3 separate regions of the Homo sapiens genome follow, and regions 1 and 3 are each linked to region 2. Evidence: promoter capture Hi-C in 16 types of primary human blood cells and fetal thymus (Javierre and others, 2016). All regions are on one chromosome and are shown on one strand. Each heading gives the region's core, a stretch centred on a gene start or on the middle of the fragment in contact. The rest is flanking DNA. Distances are from core to core; before and after follow the strand shown. Region 1 holds the start of COQ5 (coenzyme Q5, methyltransferase). Region 2 overlaps LOC105378258 (a long non-coding RNA gene). Region 3 holds the start of DYNLL1 (dynein light chain LC8-type 1).

What was found. Contacts are between HindIII fragments. The CHiCAGO score rates a contact against its expected background, and 5 or more counts as called.
Region 1: the fragment with the promoter of COQ5 here is called in contact with a fragment that was not itself captured in region 2 in 2 of 17 cell types (fetal thymus and total B cells); the score reaches 5.9 in fetal thymus.
Region 3: the fragment with the promoter of DYNLL1 here is called in contact with a fragment that was not itself captured in region 2 in 3 of 17 cell types (total B cells, fetal thymus and naive B cells); the score reaches 7.3 in total B cells.

The regions. Positions count from the first base shown.
Region 1 is chr12:120,527,034-120,531,576 of GRCh38, forward strand. COQ5 (coenzyme Q5, methyltransferase) reads right to left here and starts at 2,125. Exons shown (of 7, transcript NM_032314.4): 1 at 1,907-2,125. The coding sequence starts at 2,108. RefSeq lists enhancers at 1,115-1,885, 1,886-2,655, 2,002-2,461. The HindIII fragment of the contact is 14,447 bases long and covers 1-4,543 here.
Region 2 is chr12:121,059,505-121,064,055 of GRCh38, forward strand. It overlaps LOC105378258 (a long non-coding RNA gene), which reads right to left. Exons shown (of 4, transcript XR_007063492.1): 4 at 1-252. It also overlaps the pseudogene OASL2P. Among named protein-coding and RNA genes, the nearest start is that of OASL, 23 kb to the left of the region's middle. RefSeq lists enhancers at 498-587, 708-877, 898-1,077. The HindIII fragment of the contact is 1,634 bases long and covers 615-2,248 here.
Region 3 is chr12:120,494,542-120,498,746 of GRCh38, forward strand. It overlaps DYNLL1 (dynein light chain LC8-type 1), which reads left to right and starts at 1,572. Exons shown (of 3, transcript NM_003746.3): 1 at 1,572-1,675; 2 at 1,875-2,012; 3 at 3,532-3,952. The coding sequence starts at 1,881. The coding sequence ends at 3,669. NRAV (negative regulator of antiviral response) reads right to left here and starts at 1,405. Exons shown (of 2, transcript NR_038854.1): 1 at 1,282-1,405. RefSeq lists silencers at 1,116-1,165, 1,456-1,975 and an enhancer at 1,230-1,896. The HindIII fragment of the contact is 1,365 bases long and covers 768-2,132 here.

The DNA of each region.
Region 1 (4,543 bases), core at 875-3,374, 530 kb before region 2:
ACAAGGAAATAAAAGAATTTAATTCTCAAGGTTTCTAATTTTTTATTAGAATTTTTTTTCTTTGTTTTTGAGACAGTCTCACTGTGTCGCCCAGGCTAGAGTGCAGTGGCACAATCTCAGATCACTGCAACGTCCACCTCCCAGGTTCAAGAAATTTGCCTGCCTCAGCCTCCTAATTAGCTGTGATTACAGGCGTGCGTCACCATGCTTGGCTAATTTTTTTTGTATTTTTAGTAGAGATGAGGTTTCACCACGTTGGCCAGGCTGGTCTCGAACTCCTGACTTCAAGTGCCTACCTCGGCCTCCCAAAGTGCTGGGATTACAGGTGTGAACCATCGCACCTGGCTGTAAATAAATATCAACTTCAGTATATATTTTTTCATTTCACTATACATTTATAACTGACAGGGTTTTTGATGGTTGATAATTTTTAAAGGTCATAAAACAATTCTAATTTTTCCCATTGATTAAGGTCATTGTGTATGACTTCAGCTTGCACATTTTCACAGTCTTGCATTACTGTGCACAGCGAGGACTGTCTGTACTGCAATCTCAGTCCCCAATCTGGAATTCATATTTAGTTCAGTAGTTAACTTCTTCCTTGCTTGCCACTGTGTGAAATGTTGATTATACATTGATTATACATTGTAAAATGTTGATTATACATTGGCCGGTGTGGTGGCTCATGCCTGTAATCCCAGCACTTTGGGAGGCCGAGGCAGGTGGATCACGAGGTCAGGAGATCCAGACCATCCTGGCTAACATGGTGAAACCCTGTCTGTACTAAAAAAAAAATACAAAAAATTAGCCGGGCATGGTGGCGGGCCCCTGTAGTCCCAGCTACTCGGGAGGCTGAGGCAGGAGAATGGCGTGAAGCCAGGAGGCGGAGCTTGCAGTGAGCCGAGATCGCGCCACTGCCTTCCAGCCTGGGGGTGACAGAGAGAGACTCAGTCTCAAAAAAAAAAAAAAAAAAAAAAAAAAAAAAAAAAGAAACCCCGTCTCTACTGAAAATACAAAAATTAGCAGGGCACAGTGGCAGATGCCTGTAATCCCAGCTACTCAGGAGGCTGAGGCAGGAGGATCGCTTGAACCTAGGAGGCTGAGGTTGCAGTGAGCCCATATTGCGCCATTGCACTCCAGCCTGGGCAACAAGAGCGAAACTCCGTCTCAAAATAAATAAATAAATAAATAAATAAATAAAAACAACCAAAAAAACCCCTATTTTTCTCTAGAGGTAAAGAACGGGGGCTTCAGACTCAGATTAAACTGGGTTTGAATACTGGTTCCGCCACTTACTGATATGTTCAACTGGGCAACTTCTTGCTTAACCTTTAAGTCTCAATTTCCTCACGTGTAATATGGTAATAACAATACCCACTACTGGAATGTTGAAAATGAGAATTGAAAATAATGTCTGTACGTTGCCTGGCACATCACAAACGCTCAGTTGATGGGATTTAGTCATCAGTATTCTGCTTTTAAAAAGGGGGCGTCTGGCTGGGCGCGGTGGCTCACGCCTGTAATCCCAGCACTTTGGGAGGCCGAGGCAGGCGAATCACCTGAGGTCAGGAGTTCGAGACCAGCCTGGTGAAACCCCATCTCTAGTAAGAATACAAAAAAGTTAGCCGGGCGTGCTGGCGGGCGCCTGTAATCCCAGCTACTCGGGAAGCTGAGGCAGGAGAATCGCTTGAACCCGGGAGGCGGAGGTTGCAGTGAGCCAAGATCGGACCATTGCACTCCAGTGTGGGCAACAAGAGCGAAATTCTGTCTCCAAAAAAAAAAAAAATCATAACTGCACAGACAACAACACTGGAACTAATTGGATGTTAAATCAACCCTAACTGGCCAGAAGAAACCAGACCATGGACGGTCAGATCCCTCCCATCCGCCCTCTCGCCCCTTTCACCTTTGCCCCCCTTCTCCTCTTCCGACACAGTCTCAAACCCAAAGTGCGTTTCCGCTGCCCGCTTCTCTTGGGACAAGAGCCGAGCACTTAGTAGGTCCCCGGGCCAAGAGCTACGAAGCCCGAGGAGCTGGCAGCCCCGCATCGCCCGCGACCACCCACGGCCGCAATAGCTCCATAGAGCACAGCTCCCGGGGGCCGCCATCTTGGTAGTCGAGTGACAACGGCCAGAGAGTACGCCTTGTTGCGTCACTCCACGAACGACGGCGGCTGGCCGGCAACATTATTAGCCGAACGCGCCCTGAAATCTGATACACAGTTGTGCCGGCATTATCTCTAGGATCCAAAGGGTGGTCTCTAAGTATCGGAAATCCCTTCCTCTCTCTCTTCTCAAATTGAATTTACAATTCACCAGGAATCAGGGGATCTCAGGGGAGCCCCGGGTCACCTCTTAGCGGCCATGTCTCTGAATCCGGCTAGGCAGAAAAGTACTAACTCGCAAGATATCCAGGAACTCTTGTTGTCTTGTGCAGAAGGGGGAAATTGAGGCATGGTGTGGTTAAAAAGCCAAGATCACGGGCCAATTCCTGCACACTTTGTTGAGCGTAAGAATCACTTGGTTTACGTTTTAAAATGAAGATTCCTGGGTCCCCAACTACCAGAGATTTTGATCTGACCTATATCCCTTTAATCTCTATTTAAACAAATTTCTCTGGCGATTCTGATGCTAAAGATGCAGACCATTCTTGAGAAACATATGTTACACTACTCTGAAAAATAAACATAGGACAGACTTCTTTGTTCTGTCCGTTTTATGAACCTAGGAAGCTCATAAATGGGAACGAAAGCTCTGGTATCCACTTAGCAAGCCAGAACCACCACTCACACTTGGTCTCCTGCTGACACAAAGCTACATTCCTAGCTCCAGGTGGCATGTCATGGGTGTTTTACTTCAGCCCCAGATTTTCAGTCTTTTTTTAATGGCAAGGGTAATGCAGACCGTCTTGTGCAAAATAAAGAACGGACGTTGTTGAGTTTTGCTTGGATTACTGTATGTTTCTGCTTTCATTCCATTTTAAATGTATGTTTCCTGTAAATATTTCACGAGGAGAAAGCGCCAATAGAAGAAACTGTTTTGAAATGAAAATTCTCTTCCTGGTTTAATATAGCCTGACAGATGGACACCTAACCGCTTTCGTTTGGGAAGTACTGCGCTGGGATTTCTGTTTCTTTCTCTTTTATTTTAAGAATGATAGAAGGTCCTCGTTGGTATAGTGATGAGAAAAAAAAAAGGAAGGATACAAGGGCGAAATGATTCATCCATGTATTCATAATTCTCATGTCTTTGTTAAAAGAAATTAAGTGGCTGGGTGCGGTGGCTCACGCCTGTAATCCCAACACTTTGGGAGCCCGAGGTGGGCGGATTGCATGAGGTCAGGAGTTCGAGACCAGCATGGCTAACATGGTGAAACCCCGTCTCTACTAAAATACAAAAATCAGCCAGGCATGGTGGTGCACACCTGTAGTCCCAGCTATTCAGGAGGTTGAAGCAGGAGAATCCCTTCAACCCAGGAGTCACTGGTTGCAGTGAGCTGAGATTGCACCACTGCACTCAAGCCTGGGTGACAGAGCCAGACTCCATCTCAAAAATAAATAAATAAATAAATAAATAAATAAATAAAGTCTCATCAAAGAATCTTATATCTTCCATATCTAGTTATATAAAAGAATGGATCTCAGGATTTAGGGCTGTTCCTTCTGCACATCAGATTAAGTATCCAGACCAACAGTATTTCACTGTTCTCTTATTTCATATGATATGTGGAGGAAAACCTGTAAAAAGTGAAGTAGGACAAGGACTGTTGGAAGGTATTTTTTTTTTGAGGTAGCGTCTTGCTCTGTTGCCCAGACTGGAGTGCAGTGGCATGACTTCGGCTCACTGCAACCTCTGTCTTCTGGGTTCAAGTGATCCTCCTGCCTCAGCTTCCCTAGTAGCTGGGATTACAGGCATGCGCCACCATGCCAGGCTAATTTTTGTATTTTTAGTAGAGATGGGGTTTCGCTATATTGGCCAGGCTGGTCTTGAACTCCTGACTTCAGGTAATCCACCTGCCTCAGCCTCCCAAAGTGCTGAGCCACCACTCCCGGCGCTAATTTTTGTATTTTTAGTAGAGATGGGGTTTCACCATTTTGGCTAGGCTGGTCTTATTTACTTATTTATTGATTCATTCTTTATTTTGAAATAGGATCTCACTTTGTCACCCAGGGTGGAGTGCAGTGGCACAATCATAGCTCACTTCTCACCCTCCCAGGCTCAAGCCATCCTCCCACCTCAACCTCCTGAGTAGCTGGGACTACAGGTGTGCACCACCACACTGGGCTGATTTTTGCATTTTTTGTTGAGACAGGGTTTTGCCATGTTGCCCTGAATGGTCTTGAACTCCTGGGCTTGGGCAATCTGCCTACCTCAATCTCCCAAAGTGCTGGGATTATAGGCGTGAGCAACCGCACCTGGCCCTGGTCATTTCCTTAATAGCATGTCTATGTGATCTTTTGAATCTCAAACTACTATGGTTGGAAGGGAATCATTTGTAATTTTCCAAAGTACAAATAGGTGTGGTATGATTCCCAAAGTCTTAG
Region 2 (4,551 bases), core at 182-2,681:
ACTGATCCCTCAAGAACTGCTCAGTTCAATGCCCGGCATCCTTCACTTCATCCTTCCAGTCTCCCTGGGGCTGGAGGCTGTTTTACGAAGGCAGACTGGAAGGATGTTTTATGAAGACATCCAGCCTGTCCCCAGGGGTGTCATACAGGTCCTGGAAGCCTGCCATCTCTGTGGGACCAGGAATGAATCGTCTCTGCTTCTGCCCAGCCCTGTAAGGGGCAACTCCCAGCCTTTGTCCAGTAGGCCACAGAACTGCAGAAGGGCAGGGAGATGGTGTGGGTTAGAGAGAGAGTTAGCTGCCCTTTTTCTTTCTTTTTTTTTTTTTTTTTGATACAGAGTCTTGCTCTGTCACCCATGGCGTGATCTCAGCTCACCGCAACCTCTGCCTCCCGGGTTCAAGGGATTCTCCCACCTCAGCCTCCTGTGTAGCTGGGATTACAGGCACCTGACACCACGCCCGGCTAATTTTTGGTATTTTTGGTATTTTTAGTAGAAACGGGGTTTCACCATGTTGGCCAGGCTGGTCTCAAACTCCTGACCTCAGGTGATCTGCCCGCCTTGGGCTCCCAAAGTGCTGGGATTACAGGCGTGAGCCACCGACGGAAGAATCACTAAGCTTACTTTCCTCTTTTTAGGGTGCAGAGAGGGCTAGGGGGCCCTCCAGGCATCAGCTGAGCCTCCCTCTGCTGGGCTGCCTTAGTTCAGCAGCCATCTCTCCTGCCGGCTGAGAATGGAAACTGAAACTGAACTTTGTTTTGTTTGTTTGGGTTTTTTTGTTTTGTTTTGTTTTGTTTTAATTGGAAACAGAAAATTTGCTGAGCTTTGAAAGAGGAATTTTCTCTTTCCATTTGAGGTTGCCAGGAAAAAAGGCTGGAGATGGAGCCAAGTGCCCCTTGGGCTTCCTTGAGAGGAAGGTTCTCAGGCTGGGAGTTTCCCAGGGTGTCCTGGAGCTGGGCTGCCCCCACCTCTCCATCCCCTATTTCCTGCTGCAGGAGCAGACCTTGTCTCCCTACGGGAACTCAGTAGTGTCTGCCCCGGAATCAGAAGGTGCTGGCTCCTTGGGGTGAGGGGATGGGGGCTTGGGCTGAGCCCCGGGAGTCCTGGGGCCTGGGATTGACTCTTTATTTTCTAAAAGCAAAGACATACTCACCCCTTTACTACTTGTTTTGTTGCGTATATTTAGGTCTCCCCTATCCCCTCACCAATAATCCACAGGAAGGAGGTAATCTTTTAAAAAATTGTCTTTAGGGGGCGCTGTTCTCTCAAGAACTTCATTTTGAAGAGCAAACTGACAGTTTGTGGTAGACACATTGGCTTTTAAAGATCTCAACTAGCGACCAGGCGCGGTGGCTCTCGCCTGTAATCCAGCACTTTGGGAGGCCGAGGCGGGAGGATCGCTTGAGGCCAGGAGTTTGAGACCAGCCTGGCTAACATGATGAAACCTCGTCTCTACTAAAAATACAAAAAAATTAGCCAGGCGTGGTGGCAGGCGCCTGTAATCCCAGCTACTTGGGAGGCTGAGGCAGGAAAATCACTTGACCCCAGAGGCGGAGGTTGCAGTGAGCCGAGATGGCATCACTGCACTCCAGCCAGACTGTCTCAAAAAAAAAAAAAAAAAAAAAAAAAAAAAAAAAAAAGGAAAGAAAGTAAATCCCACATTGATACTGTGGAGGCCATAAGTATGCACCTATAGGATGCATTTTAAAAATGCCCTAACAACGCATAAATATGTCACTGAGGTTTGTTAAGAATGTCCAGATTTCCAGCCTGGGCAGCATAGTAAAACTCCATCTCTACAAAATATACAAAAAAATTAGCCGGGCATGTGGCATGTGCCCGTAGCTACTAGGGAGGCTGAAGTGGGAGGATCACCTGAGCCTGGGAAGTCGAGGCTGCAGTGAGCTGTGATCAAACCACTGCACTCCAGCCTGGGCAACAGAATGAGACCCTGTCTAAAAAAAATTAAAAATAAAAATGTCCAGATTCATGACAGCCTGTCTCTCACTCTGCTTAACAGAGTAAAAAATACTGAGCCCTGAAACACAGGCTTAGAAGATTCAAAAATTGCCTTGGAGAGGGAAAACCACTAAGTGGGAGATGCCTGTGAAGAGCTTGAGTTACAAAATCTTTTTGAAAACTGAAAGTGGAAAAGAGTAATATTTGTATATTACCCCATAACATATACAAATGTATAGCTGTATCTAAATAAATTAACGAAATATTGGAAGTGCATATTTGATTTCCCTTAAGCTTATGTAATTAGGGCTATGCCAACATATTTTTATTTTTCATTTATTTTTATGTTTTTCCCCATTGATCCATGTGATTCTCAAACACATTTTTATTTTCTCCCTGGCAAATATTTGTTATTAGTCCATTGGAAAAATTGATTGGATTTGGGGATCACCTTGCATTAGGGCATTTTTGGTATATGTACTCATATTTTAAAAACTGTGAATTCCAATATATATTCTTAATAGGAAACTGCGACATTTTTGTCAATTTTCCTCTCTTCCACAAGATGATGCTCCACACCCACCTAAAACAATCACCATTTGTAGTTCCTAGGATCCTAGTACAGAAGAGACAGAGGGGATCTGCTTAATCCTTGTTTTTCAGAAGGCAGACAGGAGCCCAGAGTGTTTACCAGGGCTCTTTGACATTATGGTATTGATATTAACTCCAATAGCTATACTTATCAAGCACTTCGTGTATACCAGGCTCTCTACACAGTTTATTTTATTCTTTATTTTTTTTGAGATGGGATCTGGCTCTGTCACCCAGGCTGGAGTGCGTGGCATGATCTGGGCTCACTGCAACCTCACCTCCCAGGCTCAAGTGATTCTCCCACCTCAGCCTCCTGAGTAGCTGAGACTACAAGTATGCATCACTGAGCCTGGCTAATTTTTGTACTTTTTTTTTTTGTAGAGATGGGGTTTTGCTATGCTGCCCAGGCTGGTCTCAAACTCCTGGGCTCCAGTGATCCGCCTGCCTTGACCTCCCAAAGTGCTGGGATTAGAGTCGCGAGCCTCCACACCCAGCCTCTTTTCACAGTTTAGTTCCCATAATCCCCACAAGACTCTGTGATGCAGGTTCACACCATGTTACATTATGAAGAAATCGAGTCTCAGCAAGATGATGTGGCCTGCCCAGAGTCACACACCAAAGAAGTGGACAAGCTGTGATTCAAACCCAGGTTCTCTGATTCTAAATGCCAGAGGTTTACCCACGACATTATCTTACTGCCCAAGGCACTTATTATTTATTGAGCTCCTACTACGTGCTGGGCACTGGGCGAGGCTTGGAGAATACATAAATGAATAAGGCAGCCCCATTCTACGGGCAGTTTGTTATGTGTCTTCTCTACTGGGAATCTTCAGCGTGAGAAGCACGTGGTCCCAGGGTCTAGCACATTTCTTGGCACACAATGGGGCCTCAGTTAATGTTGGCTGAATAAATGAATGAATGACACCATGTTTCCTAGGAAGCAAAAGCACTTCAATCTTGTGACTATTTTTTAGTCCATAAAACGGATAGATGGTGGAGGACAGAGAACTTCCTGGTGACCTTCTGCTTGCTTCGTCAAGGCATCTATCAAGGGTCCCCATCTTTGAGTATGGTGGCTCAACCACAGTGGACCATCCCAAAGGTCCTCTCTGGTTCTGCATTGCAGACACTCTGTGCATGGTGGTGCGGGACCTCCTTCCTGGAGGTGCTTGCTTCTTCATTTACCCCAGTGTTTCTTAACATTTTGAAGTCTTGTGAGCACCAGAGAAAATGATGAATGCAAGGGGCCCTCCCTCTAAAAAACATGTTAATGCTAATATTTTGCATGCAATTTCAGGGGCTTCCTGGACCCCAAGTTAAGAATCTCTGCTATGGGGCCGGACACGATGGCTCATGTCTGTAATCCCAGCACTTTGGGAGGTTGAGGCGGGTGGATCACTTGAGGTCAGGAGTTTGAGACCAGCCTGGCCAATATGGTGAAACCCCATCTCTACTAAAAATACAAAAGAATTAGTCAGGCGTGGTGGTGGGCGCCTGTAATCCAAGCTGCTCGGGAGGCTGAGGCAGGAGAATCGCTTGAACTGGGGAGGCAGAGGTTGCGGTGAGCCAAGATCGTGCCACTGCACTTCAGCCTGGGCGTCAGACTCTGTCTCAAAAAAATAAAAAAAGAATCTCTGGGCCGGGCGCGGTGGCTCACGCCTGTAATCCCAGCACTTTGGGAGGCCGAGGCGGGTGGATCATGAGGTCAGGAGATCGAGACCATCCTGGTTAACAAGGTGAAACCCCGTCTCTACTAAAAATACAAAAAATTAGCCGGGCGCGGTGGCGGGCGCCTGTAGTCCCAGCTACTCGGGAGGCTGAGGCAGGAGAATGGCGTGAACCCGGGAAGCGGAGCTTGCAGTGAGCCGAGATTGCGCCACTGCAGTCCGCAGTCCGGCCTGGGCGACAGAGCGAGACTCCGTCTCAAAAAAAAAAAAAAAAAAAAAGAATCTCTGCTGTGGAAGATGCTTTTTTTTATTTTTCAAAATTTTTATTAGAGATGGA
Region 3 (4,205 bases), core at 322-2,821, 560 kb before region 2:
CTGGGATTATAGGCATGAGCCACCGCACCCGGCCTATTCCCATCTTTTTCTTTCTGGAGTTGTGTGCCTCTGCTCAAATTGTTTTATTTTTATTTTTTGAGATGGGGTTTGGCCATATTGCCCAGGCTGGTCTCCAACTACTGAGCTCAAGCGATCCCCTTGACTCGGCTTCTCAAAGTGCTGGGATTACAGGTGTGAGCCATCATGCCCAGCCACAAATTGTTTTAAGGAGTAATGAGAGTAGATGGTCAGAGGAAAATGTAGAAATGTAAATAGGAAGCTTCCAGATACATGATTAACCTGATAACTTATTTATGGAGGTTCGAAAAATACATTATAGGCATTTCAGAGCTGGTTGTTCAAAACCTTGCTGTGGCCTTTGGGATAGTTGTATAAACTGACAATTATTGATAAGATTCATTGATCATTTACTATGTGCCTCACATTGTGCTGAGAGAACTTCAAATGTTTAATACTGCTAACAAGCGTATGAACTGGTTTCCTTTTACATTTAGTCCTCCTTTACTTAAAGAAGACATTCAAATAGCTAGTAAATGACAGTGCTGGGATTTAAATCCAGATCTGACTTGTCCCTCAACTCCCCCAAGATCTTGCTTTTTTAACCACTTCGTGTCTCCTCCCTAAGCCAGAGGGGACGTCATCTCTCTAACGGCCGCTTTTTCGTCCATTAGAATACCTCCTCCTCAGAGATAAATCCCAACCAAGAATCTCTCCCACACAGGAAAGACTGCCTCACCTGAGCAAGAAGCTTCACCCTGGACAAAAACCCCGGGGCTCAACACTCCCAAATCCACCCGGATCCCCATCCCCAACCCCTTAAAGGATGTCCGCATTGCTTGGCAGAGACCCCACTCTTGGGGATAATCCCTTAATTCGTAAGGAAACACCCTCCCTCCTTGAAGCCCTCCCTCAATCCTGAGGATGCCCTCCCCTAAATATTTCAGAGCAGAACCGACTACAAATGGGGCCCAGTGCAAAATGAAAACGTAAGGGTCCCTCCTGTGAGACTGCACTGCTGGTTTACCCACGAAGCCGGCCCTGCTTCAGAGATACCCTTTCAGTAAAGGGAGAGGCCACCTCTGTCGTAATCCTGCTAACCTGGGGTGCGAGATCATGCGACCTGTCGTGGTGGGGGGGCGGGGGGGTGGGGGCAGGAATGGCCACCAACTTCTAGAGACTGTTGTTCGAGAACACACCCTGGGACAACCTCCGTGAATTTGGAATCACTTCCCTTGGCCCCGGCAGAAGCTCCCTTCCTACCTCTCCAGACAGCTGGGTGGTCCTCGTAACCCGGCCGGGGCTCCACCTTCTGGGTGTGTGGGCCTCGTAGCGTGCGGCCCATTGCCCGGGCAACCGACGCCGTGAGCGGTGCATTGTGGTCTGCAACAAAATGCAGGAGAAAGATCCTGAGGGAACCATGGAGTCAATGGACCAATGGAAGAATGCCGTGGGCTGCGTCAAGCCAATAGGGTCGCGCGGCGAGGGGCGGGGCCGGCGGGAGCAGGGCGGGGCCTGAGCACTAGGCGGCGGCGGCTGGCGTGGGGCTGCTTAGATGCGCCACGGTTTCGGTAGCGACGGTATCTCTAGCCGGGCCTGAGCTGTGCTAGCACCTCCCCCAGGAGACCGTTGCAGTCGGCCAGCCCCCTTCTCCACGGTGAGAAACTCGGGGGGCCAGGGGGTGTCCTCGCTGCCTTATTTCGCCCCACTCCGGACTTAGCCCTCCGCGTAGCCCGCGCTTCCTGAGAAGTGGGGTGGGGGGCGTCGTCCCGTGGTGGCGCCGGCCGGGGTGGGGGCAGTTAGTGCCTGGGGGGCGCGGCCCAACTCAACCCCTTACCCCAGGCCTTGCCCACTAGGTAACCATGTGCGACCGAAAGGCCGTGATCAAAAATGCGGACATGTCGGAAGAGATGCAACAGGACTCGGTGGAGTGCGCTACTCAGGCGCTGGAGAAATACAACATAGAGAAGGACATTGCGGCTCATATCAAGAAGGTGAGGATGGGCGCGGGGGCCGATACGCAGCCGGGAGCAGGGGGTTCCTTCCCCCCGATCCTGCTTTCCTAAGGGCGCCTGACAGGTCCCGGGAATACTGCTGGCGGCTTGGGGCGTAGAAGCTTCCAGAAAGGACGCAGATGCATTTTGCGCTCCTGTGGAGAAGACCAGACCCCCGGCGTCCGAAGTTTTTTTTTTTTTTTTTTTAATTACCCAGCTCCGCGGGGGGAAAGCGCCACCTAGCAACGGTATCTAAGATCAGGGAGCAGCGGTTCCCCCTTCTGTGTGGTTCCTGCGCCGAGGATCCATCTGGGTGTTCCGGAGGGGGGAGCTGCGTGGGTGTTTCCAGCCGGGCCGGGAGGAGATCTTGCCAGCCTTCCAGTGGGGAGTTGAGGGAAGGTGGTGGGTGGTGGCGGGGCTGGGGGCTGGGGTAGGGGCTTGGTAAATGGCAGTCTAGAAAGCCGGCAGGACTGCCAACTTCTCGAGCAGTGTTTGCTGGAAGGGAAGAAAGCTGGCAGCCTAAGCCGTGGGAGGGTTCCAGTCGAGAATGGGAAGATGAAAGACTTCAGATGGAACAGAAATAAATGCCTTTTTTGACAAACGCAGCAGTGCGTGCCTCTAGCTTGCAAGAGCGTTACTCCCCTTCATAGCTTTAAAAGGTTTTCGCACTGCGTGCAGTTAGAGTAGCTAAATCTTGTGTGACGCTCCACAAACACTTGTAAGAATTTTGCAGAGAAAGATAACCGTTGCCACCCAATGCCCCCCACAGGCATTCTACTCCCCAGTACCTCTTAGGGTGGGAGAAATGGTGAAGAGTTGTTCCTACAACTTGCTAACCTAGTGGACAGGGTAGTAGATTAGCATCATCCGGATAGATGTGAAGAGGACGGCTGTTTGGATAATAATTAAGGATAAAATTTGGCCAGTTGACAGATTCTGTTTCCAGCAGTTTTTACAGCAACAGTGGAGTGCTTCAGTATTGTGTTCCTGTAAATTTAATTTTGATCCGCAATCATTTGGTATACAATGCTGTTTGAAGTTTTGTCCTATTGGAAAAGTCTTGTGTTGCAGGGGTGCAGTTAAGATCTTTGTGATGAGGAATGGGATGGGCTAATTTTTTGCCGTTTTCTTGGAATTGGGGGCATGGCAAATACAGTAGGGTAGTTTAGTTCTCTACACAGAACATGATAAACTACACCTGTTGATGTCACCGTCTGTCAATGAATATTATAGAAGGTATGAAGGTGTAATTACCATAATAACAAAACACCCTGTCTTTAGGGCTGACCTTTCGTCCTTTGACCTCCTCAGCCTCCATTCCCATCTTCGCTCAGACTGCAAGTATGTTTGTATTAATGTACTATGTAGGCGGCTTGGAGCTGGGGAACATTCTTTCATTCTAAGAATTTGCAGATGCTGACGTTCCTCCTTTCTGCCCCTACAGGCTCTGGCTTATCCAAGAGGCAAACACTGACCTCTGGTAATTAAAATCCTAGTTCTTTTCTTTTGTCTTTTCCAGGAATTTGACAAGAAGTACAATCCCACCTGGCATTGCATCGTGGGGAGGAACTTCGGTAGTTATGTGACACATGAAACCAAACACTTCATCTACTTCTACCTGGGCCAAGTGGCCATTCTTCTGTTCAAATCTGGTTAAAAGCATGGACTGTGCCACACACCCAGTGATCCATCCAAAAACAAGGACTGCAGCCTAAATTCCAAATACCAGAGACTGAAATTTTCAGCCTTGCTAAGGGAACATCTCGATGTTTGAACCTTTGTTGTGTTTTGTACAGGGCATTCTCTGTACTAGTTTGTCGTGGTTATAAAACAATTAGCAGAATAGCCTACATTTGTATTTATTTTCTATTCCATACTTCTGCCCACGTTGTTTTCTCTCAAAATCCATTCCTTTAAAAAATAAATCTGATGCAGATGTGTATGTGTGTGAATTACAATTTGTTCAAATAACAGCGTTGAAGACGGTCACTTGATCAGATGCCCAGGTTGGTGGGGATGAGTCCATCCTTACAGAAGTTAAGTTTCTGTGGGGTATTTCAGTACTCTTTAGTCACATTCTCTCACCCATCCTGCAACTGTTGTGCATGTTGAGAAATGCAGTGCATGATAAAGAAACATTTAAATTAAATCTTTAGTCCTAATCTGAAAAAAATCAATGTTTAAGGATATTTG